2 separate regions of the Homo sapiens genome follow, and region 1 is linked to region 2. Evidence: promoter capture Hi-C in 16 types of primary human blood cells and fetal thymus (Javierre and others, 2016). All regions are on one chromosome and are shown on one strand. The core of a region is centred on a gene start or on the middle of the fragment in contact, and the rest is flanking DNA. Distances in the headings are between cores, read along the strand shown.

Evidence for each region. Contacts are between HindIII fragments. The CHiCAGO score rates a contact against its expected background, and 5 or more counts as called.
Region 1: a fragment that was not itself captured here is called in contact with the fragment with the promoter of ZNF222 in region 2 in 1 of 17 cell types (total CD4 T cells); the score reaches 6.1 in total CD4 T cells.

Annotation. Positions count from the first base shown.
Region 1 is chr19:56,368,234-56,375,000 of GRCh38, reverse strand. It overlaps a transcript of ZSCAN5A not described here and the pseudogene ZNF542P. Among named protein-coding and RNA genes, the nearest start is that of ZNF582, 22 kb to the left of the region's middle. RefSeq lists enhancers at 6,472-6,601, 6,647-6,767. The HindIII fragment of the contact is 1,223 bases long and covers 1,133-2,355 here.
Region 2 is chr19:44,021,353-44,028,716 of GRCh38, reverse strand. It overlaps ZNF222 (zinc finger protein 222), which reads right to left and starts at 3,338. Exons shown (of 4, transcript NM_001129996.2): 1 at 3,239-3,338; 2 at 1,568-1,694; 3 at 1,227-1,319. The coding sequence starts at 3,280. ZNF222-DT (ZNF222 divergent transcript) reads left to right here and starts at 3,435. Exons shown (of 3, transcript NR_184028.1): 1 at 3,435-3,602; 2 at 3,698-3,819; 3 at 4,818-7,364. RefSeq lists enhancers at 3,043-3,092, 3,323-3,372. The HindIII fragment of the contact is 1,542 bases long and covers 1,982-3,523 here.

The sequences.
Region 1 (6,767 bases), core at 495-2,994, about 12 Mb before region 2:
GCTTCCCTAAGTAAATTCCTTGGCACTAAGTCTAATGTTGTCTAGCTGCTATTATCTCACACATACCACACAAGTTGCTGCTAGAGGAATTAAGTACCTCCTGTGTGACTCCCCTGGGAGAGGAATCTCGGAAGCACATTCCTGATTTCCTCCAGACTTTGCCTTATGAGCTTACCTTTGCTGATTTTGTTTTATATCTTTTGCTAAAATAAATCTTAGCCATTGTGTAGTAAATAATTTAACCTTTTCCAAAGAGAGTTCTAGTCTTTGCCTTTGGCTCCTGGGAGATGGTCATCTCTGACACCTTGAAATATCCTGCAAGATAAAAGTGTCTCTATTTACCTATGGGCGTTGGACCACACCAGATAATCAAACTATGTGATTTATGTGGGGCTTTGGGTCACATGATATTAGGGTGACCTTCAGAGGAGCTAGAGATTGAGGTGAGACATTAGCAGTCAGCCATGTCTACATGATGGTGCCCTAATGAGGAGTCTGGATAACAAGGGTCAGATAGGCTTCCTTGGTTGGCCACACACTGTGCATACTGCCACACATCATTGTTGGGAGGAGTTAACACTGTCCATGACTCCACTGTGGGGGCATAAATGGAAGTCCTCCGAGACTCTGCCCCATGTCTTTTTCCTCGGCTGATTTTTAATGTGTATCCTTTCATGGCAATAAACTCTAACCATGAGTGTAACAGCTTTCAGTGAGTTCTGTGAATCCTTCTAGTGAATTATCAAACCTGAGGGTCATCTTGGGGACCTTTGGATTTGCAATTCGTGTCAGAATTCAGGGTGGTCTTGGGGACCCCCATACTTTGCAGCTGGCATCAGAATGATGGTGTTCTTCTGGACTATTCACTAACTTTGCAGGCATGAATACAATGATATGATGACTCCTGTGACGACTCCTAGTAAGTCCTTGAACCTGGGGGTGGTCTTGGGGACTCTCAACAGTTGACTAGTTTTAAAAATGGAATTAATGTTAATGAATAAATGACCAATGAATACACCCATTCAAACAATCAGACCACTATATAAGTCATCTTACAGTAAAGAAAACAATATCAAAGAGTCAAATAAAAAAAAAGTCATGAGAAACAGGATCCTGAATTTAAAAGGAAGCTTACCATAGACAAAGAGGAAAGACACACCTGTAATTTCTGAGCCCACAGGCATTTATAAAAGCAGATATAAATGGTGGGTGATCAGTACCCTTTTAGGAACTCAAACTCAAGGAGCCTCAATTTCTACATACGTATGGAACATTGGAAGAGAGCATCTTTCACATCTTAAAGGTGCTTTGCCCTCTAGACCTGGTATGCCTTTCATATACATGGCTTACCCCCGCTAGTTGGTTCTTCATACTCACCTGGCAATGGGCCTCTTATCTCTTCTTTTGCCATTATCCAAGGCAGTTTCCTTTTCTCCAACAGTGAAATCACAGATTTAGAAATGGAAAGTCCTGTGAATAGAAAGAGTTGGCTATGCTCTGGTTACTCAGGTATTGTGACAGATCAACACTGTAATCGAAACACAAGCCATTATAAAAACAAAAACATTAGAACATCTGGCAGATAGGATAAAGAAAGCTGCTCACTCCAATTTCCACATCTCATGTAAATTCTGAATCTCACCAAAGACTCCCAGTATAAAAACAAAAAAAGAAATACTCAAGACCAGTTGCTGAATTAAGGGCTTTAAGCACTTACCCAGCCAGACCAGGTTCTGATAATTCTCCAGCATCACAGTTGTGTACAAATCTCTCTGAGCAGGGTTCAGGAATCCCCACTCTTCCTTGGAGAAGTCAATGGCCACATCTTGGAATGTCACTCATCCCTGAAAATGATAAACACTTCCTTAGAAGAGCCCAAGGAAATAACTGGAAGTTGGGAGGAGCTGATAAGGACTCTTTGTCTTATAAAAGCAGCTTATTTAAGTTACTAAAGAGCAATACTGTGAAATAGTGTTTATTAAAATTTGGGTATAGAAAAATACTTAATAAGGGAAACATTCAAGATGAACAGGGTGATTCAAAAAACACTGAATAATTTAAGAAATGTATTGCTCAGAGATTGTGTATCCACGTATTCAAAACCAATTTGTAAAGGAACTAGCATAGTTGATTTTATAATCTTACATATTCATAGTATGACCACACATTGACTTTGTTGAAAGCCAGTCATGATCAATTCTACCATGGATCTGTAGTGTATCAGAATAACTTACAAATTACTTTTTTGCTGAAACAAAGTGTAGTCCTCTTTCTTTAAATCTGGATCGGACCTACAATTTGCTTTAATCAACAGAATATGACAGAACTAACACTAACTAGTTCCAGATGAAAGCTTCAGGAAGGCTTGGCATCTTCTGTTTTGCCCTCATAGGGGCTCATGACACATAAGAAAAGACAATGAGACGTTGCCAATGGAGAGTGAGACATTCTGAGACTACATCAAGTAAAGCTGAGTAACTCAGCTAGCAGCAAAGAACAGTGGCCCAGATACATGACTCCAGCAATTCTAGCTAAATATAAAATACATGAATGAAGAAGACATCTTGGGGATTCAGGCCCTGGCAGGCATCATAGGATCAGAGATTAATCATTCCCACCCTGTTGAGTTCAGTGTGAATTCCTCACCCATAGAATCATAGGAAATAAAGTAGTCTTTGCTCTAGCAGCTACATTTTAGGGTAGTAGATGTAATGGTCTGAAAACTGCAGCAGATGTGTTATTATTTCACCTTATTTGCCTCCATCAGGCTGTGCAACAGGAGCAAAGAATAAGGTTTCATCCTCAGCTACTTAGGAAGAAGGTGGGAAGAACTGAGGATGCCCAGCCTATGGTTAGTTTTCCTTTCCAATATCCTGGGACTTCATCAACTCATAATACAACTATGATTCCCAATCACTCCAATCATATACAGCTGCCCTGTGTTGTCCTTTCCAAATACACCCTTGCACCATCTGTAACAACAGTACATAGGTCAAAAGCTATTGAAACTTAATTGTATTAAACATGGGGCAGAGAAGGTTCCTCTTTTCTCACTTGAATGTGGGGTTTAAGAAATCTTAAGGATCTCTGGGTGCAGTGGCTCATGCCTATAATCCCAGTGTTCCTGGACCAAGCTGAGGGTCAGGCTGCTATTTATTGAGGCCCAATAACGAGATGCAGATTAACTGGGGAGGAAGGGAGTTTTTATTTCTGTAGCCGGTTACAGGGAGAAGGCCTGGAAATTACTGCCAGACCAACTCACAATTACAAAGTTTTCCAGAGCTTATATACCTTCTAAGCTATATGTCTATGTGTAGGTGTGCATTCATCTAAAGACAAGTGATTAACTTCTTTTAATCTATAACCAAGGTCTGAGTCTTGAAGACCTTCCTCAGGAGCCTCAGCAAATTTACTTAATCTAAATGGGTGTAGGGTGCTGGAGTGATTACCCTTATCTTGTCTCCTGCTAAACCACGGTGGTTTGGGGATTTCCTTCAGACCTCCAATAAATTTGTTTGTGGAGGCGTGGGGGGTTTCTTCAGACCCCCAGTAAAACTTGTTTCATCCTAAATGGGTCCAGTTAAGAACTCCTTCATTATTTTGTCATGCTTTAAGGCCCAGGAAAGGCCGAGGCAAAACTGTTGGTGGGCTTTTGTTACATTCCAGCCTCTTTGTAAGGGTAGTGGCTTTTAATATTTAACCACTCAGTCAGTACTGAAACAGCTGTTATGGACACCTGCATTTGGTGAGACATGGCCTGCCACACCAGCACTTTGGGAGGCCAAGGCAGGAGGACTGCTTCAGGCCAGGAGTTCAAGACAAGCCTGGGCAACACAGCAAGACTTAGTCTCTACAAAAAAATAAAAAAATTAGCCAGGCATGGTGGCACATGCCTATAGTCCCAGCTACTCAGGAGTCTGAGACAGGAGGACTGCTTGAATCTAGGAGGTTGAGGCTGCAGTAAGCCATGATCAATATGATGAATTCATGTCCAATAGGATCAATTTTCACAACGCAATACACCCATCAGCAGATCCCCGATCAAGAAACTGAATATTACCAACACCTCCAAGATTCCCCAAGATTGCTTCAAGACACACCTCTTGCTATCCTGAATTCTGTCACCATAAATGAGGCAGACTACAATATTTTAAATGAATATTTTTTCTTGATATTCTTCAAATGCCAGTATTTTCTTTCTTTTAAGAGACAGCAGTCTTGTTATGTTGCCCAGGCTGGAATGCAGTGGCTATTCACAGGTGTGATCGTGCTGCACTATGGTGCTGAAATGCTGGGCTGAAGTGATCCTCCTGCCTCAGCTTCCCAAGTTGCTGGGACTACAGGTGTGCGCCACTGTGCCCAGATGCCAGTATTTTTTCTACCACTACATCTTCTAAAAGATCACAAAAAGACATATACAGGTTGAATATCCCTAATCTGAAATGCTTCAAAATCCAAAACTTTTTAAGTGTTGATGTAATAGTCAAAAGAAATGCTCATGGAACATTTTGGATTTCAGATTTGGGTTGCGCAACCAGTAGGTATAATGCAAATATTCCAAAACAAAACAAAAAAAATCCAAAATCTGAAATACTTCTGGTCCCAGGAATTTTGGATAAGGGATACTCAGCCTACACAATAATATTCATAGCAGTTTTACTAATAATAGCCAAAAATCTAGAAACATCCCAAATGTCTATCAACAGGAAAATGAGTAAGTAGACTGTAATATATTAACACAATGGAATACTCAGCAAAACAACAACAAATAATGGACATTAATGAACATTAAAATCATTATGTTGAGTTAATGAAGCCAGACACACACCTACTGACTACTTGACTCCATTTACGTGAAGCCAAGCAAAACAAATCCACTGTCATCAAAACAAGAAATTAGTTTCCTCTGAGGGCCAGGGCAGGGAAAACTACATGAAAAATACTTGCAGAAGTGATGGAAATCTATCTTGATGGTGAAAATATCAACAGAGTTAAGGAAGCATTGGAAGTATGGAGGAAATGGGATAAGAACTGGTGGTTAAAAAAAGCCTTAAGCTCAAATACTTCACATCAAAATACAGAAACAATAAAGTGGTAAAAATGTTTTTTTCTGCATGGTTGTTATATGACGGTTGAAATTTTTTTAACAACTTTTCTTTTAAAATACATAAATATAATTTAACAACTTCATGAACAGCTTGAGTCATCATAACAAACAGAATGTGTAGGGAAAATACTGCCTGTTTCCCTAAAAGAAAATGTAAGTTTCCCCTTTGAGAAGAAAATCTATTTTTCAAACAAAATGTCTTGGTGACTACATTTAGCGGGCTAAGAATCAAATCTGGTTGTATTTGCACAAAATTTCAGAGACCATGCAAACACCCTGAAGAGAACCCTTTTTTGGGAAATATAGCCAGCTCATCCATCTTCTCCCTTGCAGCATACTTCTTGTTCCTCATTTACAGAAAGCCAATAGGTATTTTCCGGAATTCCACAGATGAAGCCTGTGACTTTAAGCTGCCCAACGTCAAACTGGAACCTGTGATCCACAACACTCTCTTTCACTAATGTCCTAGTAAATGGCCTGACTTTGTTAACCTGGACTTTCATGCTTAAGATATCAATCACATTCCCATTCCCCAAAATTTCCAAAGGCAGATTACCATTACTGAGTCTGAACCACTCATAAGCATTTTCTATGCTGCGTCCTCTCAGTCTGGAGCTGTAAAGGAATTCAAAGATGACTGAGTATTCACCCCTACTTCAGGAAGACGACAGTCCCCGGATAAAGGCTCTTGTCTTCTCCAGGGAATGTATCTCTGACCCACCACACAGTGCTTAAAAGAAGACTGGTGACAGTGGAGACTCAGATTAATTCATTCAGTGAATAAATGAACACTAAAGTACAGGACATGGACTCTGAGAAGAGAGGTTGCTATAGTCCCACGTGTTGCTGAATGAAAAGACCTGAGCCTTGTACCGGTGTCAGTCTTTACCACCCAAGTAAGCAAAATTAGATGTGCCCAGGACTTAAAACCTATGATGTTGCAGGACAAAAACTTACCTGAGACATGGCTAACGCGCACTGCGCTGGAACCGTGTCCTGAATAGTGACCAGGTCCTGGAAATGCAGAGCTAAGGAGAAGGAAGAAAACTTCAAAGACGAGATTCTCGAACCCACTGCCACCCATTTTCAACCATGTTCCTAACAAACTCCAAAAACGACAGATTTCACTGTCAAAAGAAAACAGTTTAGCGTGCAGCTCTGGTTCCTAAAAATGTAACTGGGCTTTTTTCAATGCCCCAGTGGCCTACTCTGGGATAGAACCATTCACACAAAGAGTAATTTTAATAATGTCCTCTGTGTACACAAACGCCAACACACTGATCACGCGAGCATTCTTGTAAGGCACCCGCCACCTCCAAACTCAGGCCCGGACGCCAGCGCTGACCTGAACGGATCCCTGGGCCTCTGGCCATTCAGCCGCCCACTCCTCCCCGGAGCGCCTCTGAGACGGACCGCCCCGACGCAACACAAACCTCATAATGGCCCAGCCTCCGCGTGGCGCTGGGAAAAATACTGCCCAAGAAAGGAGAAACGGCGACGCTGCCCACCCAGGTCTCCCTGGAGCCCGCCGACCTGAAGCAGCGGCCGCACCGCGTATGCGCCCGGGTGGTTTCTGGGAGTAGGCGAGGACTCGCAGTGCGCATGTGCAGCCCCCACGGCCCCGCTCCCAGTGACCGGAATGCAGAGGCGTACATGGCTA
Region 2 (7,364 bases), core at 2,089-4,588:
TACAGATAACTGCCATGTACCAGGAGTATTCTAGGTGCTGAAGATGCAGTCATAAAGAAACAGATAAATGCCTTCAAGAGATTACATTGCAAAGGGGAGGGGCGACTTATCAGTAGACAAAAATACATGAGACACAACACAGGCAGGCCAAGAAGAGTAAAGATAGGATAGTATTTTCAATAAGGTGCTTGGAGACGACCTCTCCCATGATATTAAAACTGAGCAGAGAGCTGCATAAACTAAAAGAGGGGTCAGTAAGTTTTGTGGGGACAGTGTATTCCAATCAGAGAGAAGAGCAAGTGAGGGCTCGGAGGCAGAAGCTTTTGTAGTAGAGAAAATAATCATTCCTGAAAGATGTCTACATCCAGTCCTCAGAACCTATGAACACGTTATGTTCCACAGCAAGGGAGATTAAAGCTACAGATGCCATTGAGGTCACTAGCCAGCTAAGCAGAAAGTGGGAGGGTCATCCTGAATCATCCAGGAGTGATGAATACTATCACAAGGGACCTGAAAGGTGAAAGAGGAAGGCATAAGAAGAGTGGCAGAGGAAGCATGACTATGGAAGAATGGTCAGGGATGCAATGTAGCTGCTTTTGAAGATGGAGGAAGGGAAACAAGAGCCACGGAGTGTGGACAGTGACTAGAGACTGGTAAACCAAAATGAAGTCTTCTCCCCATGAACATCCAGAAAGGAACAAAGCCCTAAGACCACTTGATTTTTGCCCAGTGAGATGTGTCAGACTTCAGGCCTACAGAAGAGAAAGATAAGTGTTTCTTGTTCAGTCTGCTGAGTTTTATGTCACCGGCCACAATAGGCAATACAATGTCCTTGGCAGGATAGAGAAACAGCAGGGAGGACAAGGTGCCTGGAAAAGATGGAGCAAGGGGGAGAGGACAGGAGATGCAGTCAGACAGTGTGGGATGAAGGGCAGATCACAGGGTCTACAAAAGCCACTTAAAGAGGTTGTAACACTAATAAAAACAAGAAGCCAGAAAGGCTTTGAGCTGAGGAATGGCAATGTGACTTCCGTTTCCTACGGATCACTTTGGCTACCGTAAGAACAGATGGCAGGGTGGGAAGGGTGGGAGCAGGGGCATCAGCAGGGAGAAGGCTGTAATAATCCAGGAAACAGGTTTGGCCATTTACCCCAAAATGCTGGAAATGGGCATGGACAGAAGTAACAGGAATCACATGCAGGGACACACAATTGCTTGGTTCTTACCCAAATTCCCTTCTCTTTGGCTTGTTGTCCCCATCACCCAAAACTTTTCTTCCCTTAGGAAGTGGAAAGTATCTCCATGGAATGGTTGATGCCCTGTGAACAGGCAAAGTCACATGCTTAATCCCAACATGTTCAAGGTAATATCATGTTGGTGCAAACGTAATTGCAGTGTACCATTACTTCCAATGACAAAAACCACAATTACTTTTGCACCAACCTAATAGCCAGGCAAAATTTACTGGAAATGTAGGTTCTCACTGCACACTCAAACTTGAAAACCCTAGGATTAAAAAACCACTCCTGGGGCCTGACATTCCATTACAGGGGGTGCCCGTCCTCACCCACTGAGAGCAGGTTCCTGAAGTTCTCAAGCATCACATCTCGGTACAGCTTCCTCTGGGCAGGGTCCAGCAGCCCCAGCTCCTCCTCAGTGAAGATCACAGCCACATCCTTGAAGGTCACTGCCTCCTACAACATCAAGCAGATGTCACCTCAATCTTACGGCCAAAGACTATTGGGAGACAGCAGCATTGCACTGGCACAAGGGACAAGTGTAAAGTTGTTTTGGATCTTGAGAGACATAGGTCAGCTTATAGATTTCCTACTTATTCTGTTTGTGTCCTGACAATGACTGATTAGGCAATAGGGGTTTGGAATGGAGACTGCACACACCAGTCAACAGGGTGTGTCCTGAATAAATAGTGGGTAAAGGACATTTACTGAGATGCTATCTCTAACTCCACTTCAGGAAAGCTTGCTGCAGAGTTAGAGTGATATAGTCCAAATGCTCTGTTTGAGTCGCGGGCCCTTTGACGAAAATGAGACTGAGGCAGGAGAATCACTTGAACCCGAGAGGCGGAGGTTACAGTGAGCCAAGATTGCACCACTGCACTCCAGCCTAAGCAACAAGAGCGAAACTCTGTAAAAAAAAAAATATATATATATATAGAGAGAGAGAGAGAAAGAAAATAGTAGATAAGGTTAAAAAAATTAAAAAGCAAAAAGCAAACAAACAAAAACTCCTATAGAAGTCCAAGCCCCTGAGCCTTGCCTCAAGGTGCCTTCAATCAAGTCCTAACTTACGTTCTCCACCTGTTCCCAGCTAGTACCTCTGCCTCAATGAGAATTGCATTCAAGAGATGATCAACTCAGGCTCTAACCTGGACTGCCTAGGTTTCAACTCCTGCTCCACCTGTGTCTCACGCCCATCTTTAAAATGAAAAAAGCAGCACCTCTCCACAGTGCCACTGTGAAGATCATGTATTTTGGGGTATAAAGTACTTGGAATAAAGTTACCAATTAAGGCTTAATCATTATCGACACCCATGCCCGAGGGACAAATCCTACACACTCTCGGTTGAGGTAAGCATCTCTGTCAAAGAAAAAAAGCCAAGGATCACTCACGTAGAGCTTTGCCATCAGTAGCCAAGAAGTCCCTTCCTGCAGCTCTTTTAGAAAGGTCGGGCTGGGGAAAAAGAAAGCTGTGAAACACCCTGACCGTTTTGCCGTCCCCCATAAAAGTTAAATGCTCCCCTCACTTTCCTAAAAAGAGGTCAGAAGGCGTCAGGGATCATCCAGCGTCCTGCAGGGATCAGGCAGAAGGGCCGGCGCCCCTGCAGCTGGAGCTCTGACCCCACCAGAGGACCTGACAGGCTTCGTGGGAAATTAACAAGAGACCACCAGACACCGAGTGACAGGGACTGCTTTTAAGGCTCTCATTTGTGTTACCTCTTTCAGGTCCCAAAATGAATCCATTAGGATGGTCCGAAAAGTCCCGTTACAAAACAAACAAACAAACGAACCAGCAATGGAAGATAAACGGACATTAAGTGACACTCCACACCACACTGAAAGGGGCTGCACACGTAGGGAGGAGGGAGGCGGACTAAGCGAGGTCAAAGTAGGGCACACCGGGCCGCGCCAATCCCACTCCCTGAGACCCTAGCAGAGCCCCCCGACGCCAGAAGGCTCAGCTGACTGGAACGGCAATCCCCGCCCGCGCCCCTCCAAACCTCTGCTCTCCGCCCAGGCTTCTTTTCTCCTGAATCGATCATTGGGTGGTTGCGAGCCCCAAGGAAAGGAGACTCGTTCGGAAGGACTCGCAAGATGTGGAAATGACTCAAACTACTGTGGTAAATGAAATAGCAACGTCACAGTTGGGGACCGGAAGTGCTCGAGCCTCCACAGAGCGTGTGGACTCCACTTCCCAGAATTCCCCGGACTCGCCCGTGTGAGACAAAGGGCCCGCGACTCAAACAGAGCATTTGGACTATATCACTCTAACTCTGCAGCAAGCTTTCCTGAAGTGGAGTTGGAGATAGCATTTCAGTAAATGTCCTTTACCCACTGCTTATTCGGGACACACCCTGTTGACTGGTGCGTGCAGTCTCCATTCCAAACCACTATTGCCATTCCTATCGCTTCCATAAAGCCTAAGAAATCAAATATTTTCTTTCTCTGCCTTCATCTAGCTAGAAATTTTCATGGGACACAATTTTGGGAAGTGAGACATTAGGAGAAGTGAGCTGTCCTCTCCTGACAAGAAATGTGCTTGGCAGGCTGTGAGTACACGAGGAGTTGAAAGAGTAAAAAGGTGATCGTCTCAGTGGACTGTAGGTATTGGCGAGGTTCTAATATTACTGATGCTAGCATGCTGGTGGGACCAAGGTGGAAATACAAGTCAAAGTTGTTGGAGAGTAGTGCTGCAAATTATTATGGAGGAATATTTGCTAGAAAATGACGAGGTCTAAAATATGACCATGGGAGAGAGTGTCCCTTGATATTTCACATGAATCTCAGGTGGATTTTTTCATTTCTGAGAAAAATGTTACTGTGATTAAGGATTGCATTGAATCTATAGATATAGGTATTGACAGCCTTGCAATATCAAGTCGCCCAATCCATTAATAATGGATATATCTCCATTTATTTGCGCCTTCTTTAATTTTTTTTTTTTTTTTTTTGAGACAGAGTCTCACTCTGTCGCCCAAGCTGGAGTGCAGTGGCACAATCTTGGCTCACTGCAACCTCCGCCTCCTGAGTTCAAGCGATTCTCCTGCCTCAGCCTCCCAAGTAGCTGGGATTACAGGCACGTACCACCATACCTGGCCAATTTTTGTATTTTTAGTGAAGACAGGGGTTTCACCAGGTTGGCCAGGCTGATCTCGAACTCCTGGCCTCAAGTTATTCGCCTGCCTGGGCCTCACAAAGTGCTGGGATTACAGGCATAAGCCACCATGCCTGGGGTGCCTTCTTTAATTTTCTTTAGTAAGATGTTGCAAAATTCAGTGTCCAAGTGTTTCTTGTCATTGGTTAAGACAGTTCCTAAGTAATTTATTTATTTAATGCTATTGCAAAGGGAACTATTTTCCTTTTCAGATTAATTGTTTTTGTATAGAAATACAACTGCTTCTTCTATGTAGATATTTTTCCTGCAACTTTCTGACTTTACTAGCTCTAAGAGTTTTTTTTTCTTGTGAATTCTTTAGAATTTTTATATATAAGAACATGTCATTAGCATATAGACAATTTTACCTCTGTTTCCAATTTTAATAGCTTTATTTTCTTTTTCTATCTAATTGTTCTGCATAGAACTTCCAATACTACATTGACTAAATGTGGGAAAAGTGGAGAAAACTCATTGTGTTCCTGATATTAGAAGAAAAGCTTTCAGTCCTTCACCATTGAGTATGACAATCAGCTCTGAGAATTTCCATATATAGCCTTTATTTTGCTGGGGTAGTTTATTCTCCTTCTAGTTATTTGGTATTTCAATCATGAAAAGGTGCTAGGTGCTGAATTTTGTGAAACTGAATGTTCTGCATTCACTGACATGATGTGATTTATACCTTCCACTCTGCTCATGTGGAGTATTACATTGATATTTGTATGTTGAACCATAATTATATTCGCCTTCCAGGAATAAAACAGTTCGGTCACTAAGTGTAATCCTTTTAATATGCTGCTGGATCTTGCTGGTATTTTGCTGGTGAATTCTTGCATCAGTATTCATAAGGGATATTGGTGTATAATTTTATTGAATTGTCTTTTTCTGGTTTGGCATCAGGGTAATACTGACCTGACAGAAGGATCAAAGAAGTGTTCTCTCTTCTTGCATTTTTGGGAAGAGGTTGAGCAGCTATGGTGTTAAATGTTCCTTAAATGTGTTGAAGCGTTTGCCAGTGAAGCCATCTGATCCTGGGCTTTTCTACATTGGGAGGTTTTGGATTACTGATTCAATCTCCTTACTAGTTAGAGGTCTACTCAGATTTTTTTGTCTTCATAATTCAGATTTGGTAAGGTGTATGCTTTAAGGAATTTGTCTATTTCATCTAGTTATACAAATTCTTGGCATACAATTGTATATAGTATTCTATTACAATCATCTTTATTTCTGTAAAAATTGGTAATAATGTCCCCTCTTGTTTCTGATTTAGTTTCTTGAGCCTTCTGTCTTCATTTTTTATTCAATCTCACTGAAGTTTTCATAATTTTCTTATGAAAATAACCAACTCTTGGTTTCATTGATTTTCTTGGTTTTTCTATTCTCTATGTATCATTGCTTTAATGTTTATTATTTCCTTCCTTCCACTAGCTTTCTTATTCAGATTCTTTTTTGTAGTTCATGAATGTAAAATAGGGTTGTGAATTTGAGATATTTCTTCTTTTTTAATTTAAGTATTTACAGGTACAAATTTCACACCTATTACTGCTTTTTTTCTCATCCCACCAATTTTGACACATTGCTTTTATTTTTAGCTCTCTCCAGATATTTCTAATTTTACTTTTAATTTAGTCTGACATGTAGATTATTTAAGAATGTGTTGTTTCATTTCCACATACTTGTGAATTTTCCACTTTTCATGCTGCTATTGATTTCCAGGGTTTTTTGGCTAGGTTATAATTGGAAAAAAATATTTCCTATGGTACTAAAGTTTTAAATTTATTAAGACAATAAATTTAGTTTAATTAGTTCCCACTTGTCAACTTTAGTTTTATGACATAATATATGGCCTATCCTGGAGAGTGTTTCATGTATAAATAAGAAAATGTGTATTCTATTGTTGTTGTTGTATGAGGTATTCTGTATATGTCTTTTAGGTCCAATTGGTATGTAGGGTTTTTCAAGTCCTTTATTTCATTATTATCTTCTGTCTGGTCTTCTTATCTATTTGAAAGTGAGGTATGCAATGTCATTCCTCACAGAATTATAAAAAACTATTATAAAATTCATATGGAGTTGACTCCTTAGTGGAGTAGGCAGCACATTGGTCTCATAAAATTCATATGGAACCAAAAAAAGAGCCTGAATAACCAAAGCAATCCTCACCAAAAAGAACAAAGCTAGAGGCATCACACTATCAACCTTCTGACTACTGTAAGCCTACAGTAACCAAAACAGTATGGTACTGGCACAAATACAGACATATAAACCAATGAAACAAAATAGAAAACTCAGAAATAAAGCCACACACCTACAACTATCTGATCTTTGACAAAGGCAACAAAAACAAGCAACAGGGAAAGGACTCTCTATTCAATAAATGGTGCTGGGATAACTGGCTAGCCATATGCAGAAGAATGAAACTAGACCCTTACCTTTCACTATACACAAAAATTAACACAAGATGGATTCAAGATTTAAGTATAAGACCCCAAACTACAAAAATCCTACAAGAAAATAACAGAAAATACCCTTCTCGACATCAGCATTGGCAAAGAATTTTTGGCTAAGTCCCCCAAAAGCAGTTACAAGAAAAGTAAAAGTTGACAAGTGGGAACTAATTAAACTAAAGAGCTTCTGCACAGCAAAAGAAACTGTAACAGACAGCCTACAGCATGGAGAAGATATTCACAAACTATGCATCCAACAAAGGTCTAATATCCAGCATCTATAAGGAACTGAAACAAATCAACAAGCAAAAACCAAATAACACCATTAAAAAATAGGCAAAGGACATGAACAGACAGTTCCCAAAAGAAGAAATACACACAGCCAACAAACATATGAAAAGATGCTCATCATCTCTAACCATTTTAGACAACTGCAAATCAAAACCACAATGAGACACCATCTCACAGCAGTCAGAATGGCTATTAAGTCAAAAAACAACAGCTGGCAAGGCTGTAGAAAACAGG